Linked DNA regions of Homo sapiens: regions 1, 2, 3 and 4 are each linked to region 5. Evidence: promoter capture Hi-C in 16 types of primary human blood cells and fetal thymus (Javierre and others, 2016). All regions are on one chromosome and are shown on one strand. Each heading gives the region's core, a stretch centred on a gene start or on the middle of the fragment in contact. The rest is flanking DNA. Distances are from core to core; before and after follow the strand shown.

The links. The method cuts DNA at HindIII sites, captures the fragments that hold promoters and counts their contacts. A CHiCAGO score of 5 or more calls a contact.
Region 1: a contact is called between a fragment that was not itself captured here and the fragment with the promoter of USP32 in region 5, in 1 of 17 cell types (fetal thymus). The highest score is 5.1, in fetal thymus.
Region 2: a fragment that was not itself captured here is called in contact with the fragment with the promoter of USP32 in region 5 in 1 of 17 cell types (endothelial precursors); the score reaches 6.4 in endothelial precursors.
Region 3: a fragment that was not itself captured here is called in contact with the fragment with the promoter of USP32 in region 5 in 1 of 17 cell types (fetal thymus); the score reaches 5.9 in fetal thymus.
Region 4: a fragment that was not itself captured here is called in contact with the fragment with the promoter of USP32 in region 5 in 1 of 17 cell types (endothelial precursors); the score reaches 7.4 in endothelial precursors.

What each region holds. Positions count from the first base shown.
Region 1 is chr17:60,603,299-60,605,998 of GRCh38, reverse strand. All of the region lies in intron 1 of PPM1D (protein phosphatase, Mg2+/Mn2+ dependent 1D), which reads right to left. Among named protein-coding and RNA genes, the nearest start is that of PPM1D, 4.5 kb to the right of the region's middle. The HindIII fragment of the contact is 3,887 bases long and covers 1-2,700 here.
Region 2 is chr17:60,226,202-60,228,901 of GRCh38, reverse strand. It overlaps USP32 (ubiquitin specific peptidase 32), which reads left to right. Exons shown (of 34, transcript NM_032582.4): 13 at 2,671-2,700. Among named protein-coding and RNA genes, the nearest start is that of CA4, 78 kb to the right of the region's middle. The HindIII fragment of the contact is 1,896 bases long and covers 483-2,378 here.
Region 3 is chr17:60,523,249-60,525,948 of GRCh38, reverse strand. It overlaps APPBP2 (amyloid beta precursor protein binding protein 2), which reads left to right. Exons shown (of 13, transcript NM_006380.5): 1 at 1-155. The coding sequence starts at 18. Among named protein-coding and RNA genes, the nearest start is that of APPBP2, 1.6 kb to the left of the region's middle. RefSeq lists a silencer at 1-17 and enhancers at 98-367, 88-796. The HindIII fragment of the contact is 1,064 bases long and covers 719-1,782 here.
Region 4 is chr17:60,246,339-60,249,038 of GRCh38, reverse strand. All of the region lies in intron 11 of USP32 (ubiquitin specific peptidase 32), which reads left to right. Among named protein-coding and RNA genes, the nearest start is that of CA4, 98 kb to the right of the region's middle. The HindIII fragment of the contact is 1,364 bases long and covers 656-2,019 here.
Region 5 is chr17:60,390,700-60,393,399 of GRCh38, reverse strand. It overlaps USP32 (ubiquitin specific peptidase 32), which reads left to right and starts at 1,267. Exons shown (of 34, transcript NM_032582.4): 1 at 1,267-1,518. The coding sequence starts at 1,461. RefSeq lists silencers at 797-1,116, 1,227-1,446, 1,477-1,536 and an enhancer at 711-1,552. The HindIII fragment of the contact is 3,969 bases long and covers 1-2,700 here.

The sequences.
Region 1 (2,700 bases), core at 33-2,532, 210 kb before region 5:
GTGATGGTTGTACAACATTATGAATACACTTAACGCCACTAAATTATATACCTAAAAATGGCTAAAATGGTATAAATTTTATTTATTTATTTATGAGACAGAGTCTCGCGTCTTCTCCCAGGCTGGAGTGCAATGGCGTGATCTCAGCTCACTGCAACCTCTGCCTCCCAGGTTCAAGCAATTCTCCCACCTCAGCCTCCCCAGTAGCTGGGATTACAGGTACACACCACCACGTGCGGCTAATTTTTTTGTATTTTTAATAGAGACTGAGTTTCACCATGTTGGCCAGGCTGATCTCAAACTCCTGACCTTGGGTGATCCGCCCGCCTTGGCCTCCCAAATTGCTGGGATTACAGGCGTGAGCCACCACGCCTGGCCTGGTATAAACTTTATGTTATCTGTATTTTAGCACAATTTTTTAAAAGGAGAAATTTTAATTAAAAAATGGAAGAAAGTCCATTTATTTACTTACACTCAACAGAAATTCAACTAAACTCAACTAGTTGTTGAGCAGCTACTTTGGGCAAGGTATTATGTGGCCAATCCTAAAACAATTAAAGATGAGTAAGGCAGTATCTCTGGCCCCAAAGACCTCAAGATTTAGCTGACAGGCAGATACTATAGCAGACTAGCATCTCCCAGTGGTCTGTGTAATCTTTATAGGGATTCTACAAGGCCAAAACTATTTTCATAATAATTCTAAGAGTTTATTTGCCCTTTTCACTGTGCTGACATTTGTACTGATGGTAGAAAGCAATGGCTGGTAAACTACTGGTACCTTGGCAGGAGTCAAGGCAGTGGCACCAGATTGAGCCATTAGTCACTGCATTCTTCACAGCTACCTAATTACAGTCCAAAAAAAGCAAGCTAGTTTCACTTAAGAATATTCCTGGCCAGGAGTGGTGGCTCATGCCTGTGGGAGGCCGAGGCAGATGGATCACTTGAGGTCAAGAGTTCAAGACCAGCCTGGCCAACATGGCGAAACCCCATCTCTGCTAAAAAAAATACAAAAATTAGCTGGGTATGATGGCACATGCCTGTAGTCCCAGCTACTCAGAAGGCTGAGGCACGAGAATCGCTTGAACCTGAGAGGAGGAGGTTGCAGTGAGCTGAAATTGTGCCACAGCACTCCAGCCTGGGCAATACAGTGAGACTCCGTCTCAAAAAACAAAAACTAAAATTAAAAAAAGAATATCCTTGATGACACAATAAAAATTAATTGTATTAAATCCCAACCCATGAATACCTACTTTTTTCTTCTGTTGCCCAGGCTGAGTGCACAGGCTCCATCATGGTTCACTGTAACCCCACCTCCCAGGCTCAAGCAATCCCTCCATCTCAGCCTCTGGAGTAGCAGAGACTACACGCACATGCTACCATGCCAAGCTAATTTTTTATTTTGTATAGCAACAGGGTCTTGCCATGTTGCCCAGGCTGCATATCTTTTTAATATTCTATATGACAAAAAGGAGACTACATAAACAGGCTTTTGTTACATACTACAGGAAAAGCACCTGTGATTGTCTGAGTCATGTAATGAACTAGCCACATTTTTCATGGACCATCATCTTTACTTGAGAGACTGATAAACTGTGTTAATAAGACTTGGGCATTTGGTGTACATCTTCAACATGAACAAAGTGAGCTTTTCGCTTCAAGAAAAACTGACAGTATTTGTTCTCAATGATACATTTCTAATTGTTGCTTGAAAAATACATTTTGGATAATGTGTATCCACAACAGTGAACTAGATAGCTTCCCAATATTTAAAGAGTTTTCTGATGAGATCAGTGATATTAACAAACATGATTTTCTTTGATATTGTATAATGAAATGTGTTGCTATTCAGAGGACGTTCTTAACTGAGTGAACCATTATTTTCCAAATAACTAATGCACTATGTCACAAAAATCACACATGGATGAGATTCGTTCAAAGTACAAAATAGACCAATGGATCTTAACGTATTAAGTATGAAATTCATTACTAAGGTTTCAAATTCCAATTCAGCAAACTTTAAGAAACTACTTTTCTTCCACCTTTCTCTGGGGGGGAAAATAGCTACCATTTTAGTGCAGAATATCCACAATTATCTGAAAAGACTAATAAAATATTTCTCCTTTTTCCTACTACATATGCATGTGGGGCTGCTATTTCTTTAGATACTTCAACCAAATAGCGCAAGAGATTGAGTGCAGAAGTGGATATGATAATTCAGCTGTCTTTTTTTTTTTTGAGACGGAGTCTCACTCTGTTGCCCAGGCTGGAGTGCAGTGGCCCAATCCCAGCTCACTGCAACCTCCGCCTCGCGGGTTCAAGCAATTCTCTCTGCCTAAGCCTTCTGAGTAACTAGGATCACAGGCATGCACCACCACACCCGGCTAATTTCTGTATTTTTAGTAGAGACAAGGTTTCACCATGTTGGCCAGGCTGGTCTCAAACTCCTGACCTCAGGTGATTCGCCTGCCTTTGTGTCCCAAAGTGCTGGGATTACAGGCGTGCGCCCGGCCATTCAGCTGTCCTCTATTAAGCCAGACATTGAAAGAGGTTTGCAAAATGTAAAACAACCCCACTCCTCCCACCACTATTTCTTATTTGGGGAAAAAAGTGTTTTTTCTTTAAAATATATATATAAACATATAAGTTTGTTTTTAAAGAAATATTTTTAAATTGCCTAAGTTTAAATTTCTCATATAGTAA
Region 2 (2,700 bases), core at 181-2,680, 160 kb after region 5:
TGAGGCTAGAGTTTGAGACCAGCCTGGGCAATACAGTAAGACTCCATTTCTACCAAAAAAAAAAACAAAAACAAAAAAAACAAAGAGTCTCGCTCTGTTGCTCTGGCTGGAGTGCAGTGGCATGATCTCAACTCACTTCAACCTCCACCCCCTGGGTTGAGGCCATCCTCCCACCTCAGCCTCTCAAGTTACTGGGGACTAAAGGTGCACACCACCATGCCCCACTATTTTTTTTTAATATTTTTTTGTAAAGACGGGATCTATCCACGTTGCTCGGGCTGGTCTCCAACTCTCCTGAGCTCAAGTGATCCAGCCACCTTGGCTCCCAAAGTGCAGGGATTACAGACATGAGCCACCATCCCTGGCCAAAACTTGTTTTAATTAAAAAAAAAAAAAAAAAGAAAAAGAAAAAAGAAACCTAATTTAAATGTCATGTATTTTGTGTTGGTATGAATTCCATATTAGAAAAGCTGTGAGAAGCTTGATATTATCTTTAAGAAAATTAACACTTAGGACTAATTTATACTTCTTTTTTGACATAGATCATTTTGGTTCTACTGTCTTGTCTACAGGATTTTGGTTTCTAGGCCAGGCACAGTGGGTCACGCCTGTAATCCCAGCACACTGGGAGGCCAAGGCAGGTGGATCACTTGTGTTCAGGAGTTTGAGGCCAGCATGGTGAAACCCTGTCTCTATTAAAAATACATAAATTAGCTGTGTGTGGTGGCAGGTGCCTGTAGTTCCAGCTACTCAGGAGGCTGAGGCAGGAGAATCATTTGAAGCTAGAGGCGGAGGTTGCTGTGAGCCGAGACTGCACCACTGACCTCCAGCCTGGGCGACAGAGCTTGACTCTGTCTCAAAAAAAAAAAAAGAATTTTGACTACTTTGGTGAACCATCTAAATTTTAAAAATTGATGGTCCAAAATTCATATGTAATATAGATTCCTACTTCTTAATCATTTTTTTAAACTATGGTCACCATTTTTCTCATGTAATGCCATACAGTTAACTTACATAAATAATTATGCCATTTTTACTTAAAATTTAAAAAAATTTTTTGGCTACTAAAGTGAAGCAGTGGTAACAGACAAGGAACAAAGAAATTTATAACTGTTTGTGATTAATTAGTTATTTAATCATATTTTCAAAGGAAACTTTATATCACTACTTTAAGTAGAAAACTTATGTCCACTGGGCACAGTGGCTCACGCCTTTAATCCTAGCCCTTTGGGAGGCCCAGGCAGGAGTATTGCTTGAGGCCGGGAGTTCAAGACTGACCTAGCCAACATAGCGAGACCCTGTCTCAAAAAAAAAAAAAAGAAAAGAAAAACTGAATGGGCATGGTGGCTCACGCCTGTAATTCCAGCACTTTGGGAGGCCCAGGCGGGCAGATAACCTGAGGTCAGGAATTCAAGACCAGCCTGGCCAGTATGGTGAAACCCTATCTCTATGAAAACTACAAAAATTATCTGGGCTTGGTGGCATGCACCTGTAATTCCAGTTACTCGGGAGGCTGAGGCAGGAGAATCTCCTGAACCTGGGAGGTGGAGGTTGCAGTGACCCGAGATCACGCCACTGCACTCTAGCCTGGGTGACAGAGTAAGACTCCGTCTCAAAAAAAAAAAAAAAAGAAAAAAAGAAAAGAAAACTAGTGTCGCTTGCCAGAAATAGAAGGCAATAATATTATTAAATTCCAGCTAATAGTGTTGCCTTTTGAAGACTCTGCTATTTAGGATTGTTCTCTCTTTGTTAAAAAGAGAAATAGAGAAAATATGAAATGTTAGATTAGCATATTAGCACTATATAAACAATACAATGTTTGGTGAAAGAAAAAAATATGATTTTTTTTTTTTTTTTTTTTTTTGAGACAGAGTCTCACTCTGTTGCCTAGGCTGGAGTACAGTGGCGCAATCTCAGCTTACTGCAACCTCCCGGGTTCAAGTGATTCTCTTGCCTCAGCCTCCCGAGTAGCTGGGATTACAGGAGCCCTCCACCACCCCCAGCTAATTTTTGTATTTTTAGTAGAGATGGGATTTCACCATTTTGGCCTCCTGACCTCAAGTGATCCATCTGCCTCGGTCTCCCAAAGTGCTGGGATTAAAGGTGTGTTCAGTTATTGTAGAAGGTCACATAGGTATAAGTCATAGCATTGCCCTTCACTCTATGTACATACACCACTCATCTTTTACATATATACATATTTTTCAGTCATAAGAACTAAAACACAGTTATTGCTAAATGATGGAATCTGAGTACATGTGATATTTTCTTCATGTTTTCTATATTTTCTACATTGACCATGTAATCTTTAATAATAAAAAAATTATATACATTCATGTACTATGGGAAATAAGGAAGAAAAGAAAAAAATTTAAGCTTTATTTACTTTTAATGTTAAAAAAATGGCTGCCAACAGAATAGAGTGTAAATTACTTTATGTGGCACAAAATCCTTCACAGTCTGTTTTGTCTACCTTGCCAATTTTATCTATATACATACTTTTCCTCCTGAAAGAGATTAAAATATAGCTATGTATTAGAATGTTTTTAAATGTCTGTGGCCAACCACAGGAGACTTAAAAAAATAGATAATTGTGAGATTTGTTTCTGAAGACTACATAGTTGTCAGATTATAAACTTTGCTTCTTATTCTCTGATTTCCTGATTTTAGGATGCCAACCCTGTGGTAATTGAGCCATCA
Region 3 (2,700 bases), core at 1-2,500, 130 kb before region 5:
AGGAGGAGGGAAGGAAGATGGCGGCCGTGGAACTAGAGTGGATCCCAGAGACTCTCTATAACACCGCCATCTCCGCTGTCGTGGACAACTACATCCGCTCCCGCCGAGACATCCGCTCCTTGCCCGAGAACATCCAGTTTGATGTTTACTACAAGGTATGCGCCGTGGGCCTCCTCTCTGCTCTCCTCCAGCAACCCCGGGGGCCGCACCCCCTTCCACGTCTGCGAACCCCCGCAGTTAACCCCTCACCCCTTCCGGCAGACTTGCCTCCCGAAACGTCTGGTGCGGTGTCTGCATTGCCAGTGGAGAAGCACCCCATCTCCCTATGCCCTGTCTCTTAAGCTTTGGGGCCTTGAAGTAATCTTGGGGAGTCTTGCTCCCTGTTGGTGTTCCCTTCTACACAGTGGCCCTCTTGGGTAGGCCTTTTGCGTGGACTTACTCTATCGCGCCCCTGTCCCACCTAGTCCTTTCCTTCTAGCCCGTATCTTCAGGATATTTTCCATCCTCTCCTTCCAATTAAGTGTCAGCATCAGCTGGACTTTTTTCCGTGCTCCTCCCCCCACCCATTCCTACTTTCTCATCTCGCCGCCTTCCTTCCCCGAGTGTTTTGGTGTTTTTGCTTCGTGTTCCTTCGTTTCTCCTTTCTTTTCCCAATTGGGAAGGAGTTAGGGATTATTGGAAATAATCTGTGTGTTTTATTTGCATATTCTTTAAAGCTTTGATTTTTTTGTGGGAGAGGAGGGGCTCTATACTTGAATTAGGGATTTTGTGAAAATGGGAGTGCTGATCAACTGTTTGAAGAGGACAGGGAGAGATCTTTACTGAAAGAAAAAAACACTTTAGATTATGTTCCTGTGTTTGAAAGTTGCAATCTTGCAGCATTCTTAAATCACTCCCCCTCAAAAATCTGAACAGCAAGTCTCCCAAGCCACTCTCCAAGGAGTTTCAAGGGTAAGTGTCCTTAGATGTGGACTATTTTTGCAGTGTTTTCAGAGTGTGGAGAACTTTATGGACTCAGAGCCTGCCCTTTTCTCTCCCCCACATTTGAATGTGAACACTGGATTTATTATTCAGTCTTCCTTGTCTTGAATCCGCGTCGATAACTCCTAGTGTCCAGTAGCCACCCATGCAAAATGTGACTAAAAGTAGAATGTAATTTATTTTTTAGACCTTAAATACTTCCTCTTGATCTGTAAGTTGGCTGGAACAGTGTAAACTGATATTTTAACAGATGTTTATGTTCTTACGTATGTACAGTGTTTTGTGGCAGTTGTTTTATTGGGAAGATTGCCTGCTTTCTCCACCCCTAGATTTTTTTTTTTTTTTTTTTTTTTTTTTCAGAATTAGCAGTTGATGGGCTGCGTTCTACTAAATCCAGCTGCTTTGCACCAATTCTAACAATTAAAGTGGGGTTTCCCCCCTAAATATTTGGAGAAGATTCATTTAGGTCATGCGTATTATTATTTTGGATTTCGAGAAAAAGCTCCCTTTTTTCCTAATCCCTTTGATACATTGATTTACTTTTGTGTATTCTAAGGAAATTTTGTTCATTTAAGATACATTCCTCCCCAGGAAGGACAAATTAGATTTGTCTTTCTCAGCCTGGGAAACTGCAGCTTTGTGTGTGCTCTCTGTCCATTTTATTAAATCATGTGTAATCTTGTACCTCATATGTAATCTCTCAGAGGAAATCATTGGGAATGTAATCCAAGTGTATTTACTAGTTGAATTCGTTCAAAATACTTGAATATCTTTTAGTAACTTTCACTTCTAATTGAAGCTTTTCATTTGAAGATTATTAGTATGAATAGATGGTGCTTTTGTTAGAATTTCTGTTTCACATAGTTCACACAGTTTTAATATTGCTCCTTTTTGGTACACTTTTACTTCTTAATAGTTGTATGCTTATTGGGAGTATGGCACTGTGCTAAGATGAGGGAAGTGTTAAACATGTGCCTGTAACTATGTTGTGCTTTTATGTGTTATTTTGTTTAATCTTCAGAATTAAACTGTGAAGTAGAGTACAGTATAACCTTGCTTTATTGGTGAGAAAGTTAAGTAATTTAATTAAGGTCTCAAACCTGATATTTAGTTCCTGAGTTCCTTGCTCTTTTACTTAGATATCTATCTTAAGATAGTAGATTATTTTAATGAAAGATATTATAACACTAATTTTTTTATTAGCTTCTATGGAAGTGGAGTGAAAGTCAGTCCCAGGACTCTATTCTAATCTTTAATGGAGATGTAAGAAGAAATTATTCTTTTTATTAAAATTTAAAAAAAATAGAGATGGGGTCTCGCTGTTTTGCCCAAGCTGGTCTTGAACTCCTGGGCTCAAGCTATCCTCCTGCCTCAGCCTACTGAGTAGCTGAGACTACAGGCATATGCCACCGCACCTGACTTTTCTTCCTTTTAAACACTATTAGCATATACATATAAGAAACTTTTTTTGTGGAGACAGGATCTTGCTCTGTTGCCCAGGCTGGAGTGCAGTTGTGATCATAGCTCACCGCAACCTTGAACCCCTGGGCTTAAGCAGTCTTTCCATCTCAGCCTCCTGAGTAGCTGGAACTACAGGTGTATGCCACCCATGCCTAGCTAATTTTTTTTTTTTTAATTTTTAGTATAGATGAGGTCTTGATATATTGCCCAGGCTGGAAAAACTTTTTAAAGCAATATAACTGCACACATAAATATAAG
Region 4 (2,700 bases), core at 88-2,587, 140 kb after region 5:
GCAGCTTCACACTGCAAGATACTGTACCGGAAGATAAACTCTACAGAATTGTTCCAGGAAGTCGTAAAACAAAACAAAACACACAGGGGTTCAGAATCCAGAGTTGCTAATATAAAGTATCAAATGTGTTCAGTTTTCAACAAGAAAAAATTATGAGACATGGAATAAAACAGGAAAATGTGACCCATATACGAGGAAAAAACAAAGAATAGTAGAAACTGTCTCAGAGGTGGCAGCAGATGTTCTCCTTAGCACACAAAGACTTCAATACAACTATTGTAAATGTTTTCAAAGAGCTAAACGAAGCTGTATTTAAAGAATTAGAGGAATGTATGATCTCACTGACTTGTCCAAATAGAAAATAGCAATAAATAAATAAAAATTTAAAACAGAATCAAATAGAAATTCTAGCAGATTTGAGTTGACAGAGAAATATTCAGCAAAACAGAATATGGATCAATAGAGATTATTTCATCAGAAAGAGAGAAAGAAGACCAAATAAATGAACAGAGTTTCACAGAAGTTGGAACATGATCAAGTCTACCAAAATATGCATAATGAAAGTCTCAGAAGGAAAGAAAGAAGCAGAAAAAAGTTTGACAAGATAATGTCTGAAAGTTCTAAAATTTCTCGAAAATTATTAATCTTAGAAGCTTAATGAACTCCAACTAGGTTAAACACAGAAAGAATCACACCTAGACATATCATTGTCAAAGTGTTGAAAACTAAAGACAAAGGAAGAAGTTGAAAGCCACAAGAGCAGAAAGACTCATCATGTAGAAGGGAACCACAATGTGATAAACAGCTGACTTTTTGAAACAATAGAGCTCAGTGTGCAGTGATATGAGAAAGTGATATAAGGAAAAAACCAAAAAAGCAAAAACTGTCAATCCAGAATTCTTTATCTAGCAGAACTGTAATTCAGAAATAAAGGTGAATTACTACCTGACTTCAAAATACACTACAAAGCTATAGTAACCAAAACAGCATGGCACTGACATAAGAACAGACAAATAGACCAATGGAACAGAACAGAGAACCCAGAAATAAATCCAGGCCAGGCGTGGTGGCTCACGCCTGTAATCCTAGTGCTTTGGGAGGCTGAGGTAGGTGGATCATGACGTCAGGAGGTTGAGACCATACTGGCTAACGCGGTGAAACCCCGTCTCTACTAAAAATACAAAACAATTATCCAGGTGTGATAGCACATGCCTGTAGTCCCAGCTACTCAGGAGGCTGAGGCAGGAGAATCGCTTGAACTGGGGAGGTGGAGGTTGCAATGAGCCAAGATCACGCCACTGCACTCCAGCCTGGGCAACAGAATGAGACTCTGTCTCAAAAACAAACAAACAAAAAAAAAACCAAAACAAACAAACAAGCAAAACCCCCCACATTTACAACCAACTCTTTTTTGACAAAGATGCCAAGAGCATACATTAGAGAAAGGACAATCTCTTCAATAAATGGTGCTGGAAAAATTGGATATCCACGTGCAGAAGAATGAAACCAGTTCCCAATTTCTTACCATACACTAAAATCAAATCAAAATGGATTAAAGAGGCTGGGCGAGGTGGCTCATGCCTGTAATCCCAGCACTTTGGGAGGCCGAGACGGCTGGATCACCTGAGGCCAGGAGTTCGAGACCAGCCTGACCAACATGGTGAAACCCTATCTCTACTCAAAGTACAAAAACTAGTTGGGTATGGTGGCAGGCGCCTGTAATCCCAGCTACTCAGGAGGCTGAGGTGGGAAAACTGCTTGAAACCGGGAGGTGGAGGTTGCAGTGAGCCGAGATTGCCCCACTGCACTCCAGCCTGGGCTACACAGGGAGACTCCGCCTCAAAAAAAAAAGAAAAGAAAATGGATTCAAAGACTTAAATCTAAGACCTAAACTACTAGACGAAATTGGGGAAATGCTGTAGGACATTTGTCTGAGTGGTATGACACTGTATAATACCTCAAAAGCACAGTCAGCCAAAGCAAAAATGGACAAACAGGATTTCATCAAGTTAAAAAGCTTTACAGCAAAGGAAACAGTCAACAGAGTGAAGAGACAACCAACAGAATAGGAGAAAATATTTGCAAACTATCCATTCATCAAGGTTTTAATAACCAGAATGTATAAAGGCCTCAACTCAATAACAAAAAACCAAATAACCCAATTTAAAAATGGGCAAGTGATCTGAATAGACATTGCTCAAAAAAAGACATACAAATGGCCAGCAGATATATGAAAAAATGCTCAACATCACTAATCATAATCGAAATATCAAAACCACAATGAAATATTATCTCCCAGTTAAAATGGCTATTATAAAAAAGACAAAGAATAACTGATTCTGATGAGGATGTGAAGAAAGGGAAGTGCTAGTACACTATTGATGGGAATGTAAATTAGTACAGTCAATATGGAAAACAGTATGGAGGTGCCCCAATAAACTAAAAATAGATCCACCATATTATCCAGCGATCCCACTGCTGGGTATATATTCAGAAGAAAGGAAATCAGTAAAGCAAAGAGCTATCTACACCCCTGTGTTTATTGCAGCACTACTTACAATAGCCAAGATACAGAATCAACTTAAGTGTCCATCAGTTGATGAATGGATAAAGAAAAAAAAAAAATATATATATATATACACACACACATACACAATAAAATGTTATTCAGCCATAAAATGAATGCAATCCTGTCATCTG
Region 5 (2,700 bases), core at 18-2,517:
TGTGTTCACCTTTTGGCTCTCGTGAATAATGCTGCTATAAACACGGGGGCACAAATACCTGTTCACATCCCTGCTTTTCATTCTTTGGGAAATGGAGAGGTGGAGTGGGAGAGTCAGTCACATGCTGCCACACCATGAACCTGGAAGGCACGATGCCAAGTGAAATAAGCCAGTCACAAAAGAGAAAGTCTGCAGAGTTCCACTCAGAGGAAATACTTAAGAGTAGTGAAATTGATAGTAGGACAGCGGTTGCCACGGACCAGTGGGAGGGGGATTGGGGAGTTACCGTTTAATAGGCACAGAGTTTCCCTTTTGCAAGATGAAAAACGGTGGGAAATGGGACGTGGCAATGGATGCAAAACAATATCAATGTTCTTAACGCCACTGAACTCACTTAGAAATTGTGAAAATGGTACATTTTGTTACGTATATTTTACCACAGATTAAAACGACTCCACGCTAAGCCTTGTAGCCCTCATGTTTCTCGGGGAGAAACTCTGGGAGAGAGGATAAGCCTTTTGCACAGCGCTTTCCAGAGAATGTGTACAAGAGGCATGGTCAGGAGGAGAAGGTGGGCCGGGCAGGCGAGATGACCCGAAAAGGCAGATCCACTTCGTTAACAAGGTCCACTTTCCTCAGGGATCTCCCGCTAGGTGTGAGCATTCTTTTGTCACAGGAAAGCCTTGAGATTCTCCTTTCCTTTCACAACGCCCTCCCAGTCAAAGACGTCCCTAAGGTTGGGAGCTCCCTGCCTACCCACTCCTTTCTCTTCTGAGCCATATGCCGCATCCCTCAGAACCCCATTCCCTAAGATTCTGCGGTCTTCCATGTTAGGTCCCGGCAACTGCCACACTAACCGTCAGCTGCTCGGACCCCACCCGCCGAACGCCAGAACATGTGGGCGCGGGGGCGGGGGGGGTCGTCCTCAAGCGCCCCGGAAGTCACCACCCCCCGTCGCCAGCGGAGGCGCCCGGGCGGGGCGCGCGGCTGCGATTGGCGGGAAGATGGGACGATGCGTTACGTGCGGAGATGCGTCCCCCTCCCCGGCGCTCCTGCGCGCGGTTAGCTTGGGGAGGGGCGGAGCGTGCGGCCCTGGGCGGCCGTTACCGGGAACAGTGTCTGGCCTCGGGTCCCGTGACCCTCGGCGGAGCTGGCGGGAGGGGGCGGAAGTGGCAAGAGGGCGTGAGGAGGGAAGGAGAGGGAGGAGAGAGAGGAGAGAGAAGGGCGGAGTAGGAGGCAGGGGAAGGGGGCGGGGCGGAAGAGTCACGTGATCCGGCATGGAGGCGGTGGCGGCGACCGGGAGGAGCCGCCGGGGCAGAAGCCGCACTTGTTAGTGTGGGGGGAGGTGGGGGCGGGGGACGCCGACACCGTCACCGTCACCCAGGGACGCCGAGGAGAAGGCGGGAGGGGGGTGGGGGCGAGATCAGGCTCCGACCCCCCGCCGAGGGGATGAGGGGAGCATGGGTGCCAAGGAGTCACGGATCGGATTCCTCAGCTACGAGGAGGCGCTGAGGAGAGGTGAGGGGGGAGGGGTCTGGGCGAGCTGCCTGGGAGGCCCGCGACGGGCAGCCTGGAGGGTGGGTAACCGGGAGGGAGAGGGGAGATTGAGGGCGTGGGGCGCCTGAGGCGGAAGGGAAAGGCGGCCGGCCTTGGGGAGTGTGGTGGAGGAGAGAGGTCGGGTGGGAAGCAGCGTTTGGGAATTAGGGCCGTTTGGAAAGGGGCTTGTCCTGAGAGAGGGGGATCGGCGCTGGCAGGGCAGTGCCCGTGCTCGCTGGTGGCGTTGTGATCCTGGATGTGTCCAGGGAAGTCCTCTCCCCGTTTTCTTGGGCGGCTCCAGCCCATCCAGCCCCCCTCATCCTTCATTGCCATTTTCTCCTATCATTCCTTCATAAAAACCTCAAATAACATCCTAACCTCGTTCCTAACAGCCTTAGCTGGAAGGGGACGAGGAGGCGGCTGCAAAGCGCTCCTCTCTGCTACTGGAAGCCCCTTCGTATCTGGGGAGTCCCTGCCTTTTCCCAGAGCCTATGCCTGTCTCTTGAGGGCTGTGGCCATCCGCTTCTGCCACCCTTCACCGTTTGAGCGGCTGACTTTGATAAGAACGATCTGAAATGAAGTTGTGTTTGAGGTGAGATGAGACTGGACAGCTGGCGTTGGCACCAGACCTTGTCTTAGGTTTCATCTCCTCCGACGTTGACCAAAGCCTTTGACTGCACTTGATGCCCAGTTCTCGCTCCATCCCTCTCCATGAAATGGCATTGGGAAGTCCAGCATTCAGATATTGTGTTAAATCTCCCTTTAGAGACTGGCCTGGCTGCCAGTCCCGGCCTGCTGCTTATTGGCTCTGAGGCACAGTATATTGTTGGCAGCCCCAACCCCCTACCACTCACTCTGATACCGCTGTCCATGATCACTAAAGCACACACTAACTGGAAGTGTCTTGTTGCACAGTTTATGGCCGGAATGTCTTAATTTTTCATGACTGGGATTTCAGTGTGTGTAGATCTGTGTATGCTTGTATTTCTTTTAGACATTTAATGGATATTCTTGGTAAGAAGTGAAAAAACATTAAGAAGATTAGGAGCTAGGCATTATTGTTAACAGGTTTCCAAGTCAAGAAATCAGCCATGCTCCAGGTGGTTTTAGTAGCTAAGGATATAAAATGGTAATTAGATTAAAAGACGGGTATTCAAAATGAGG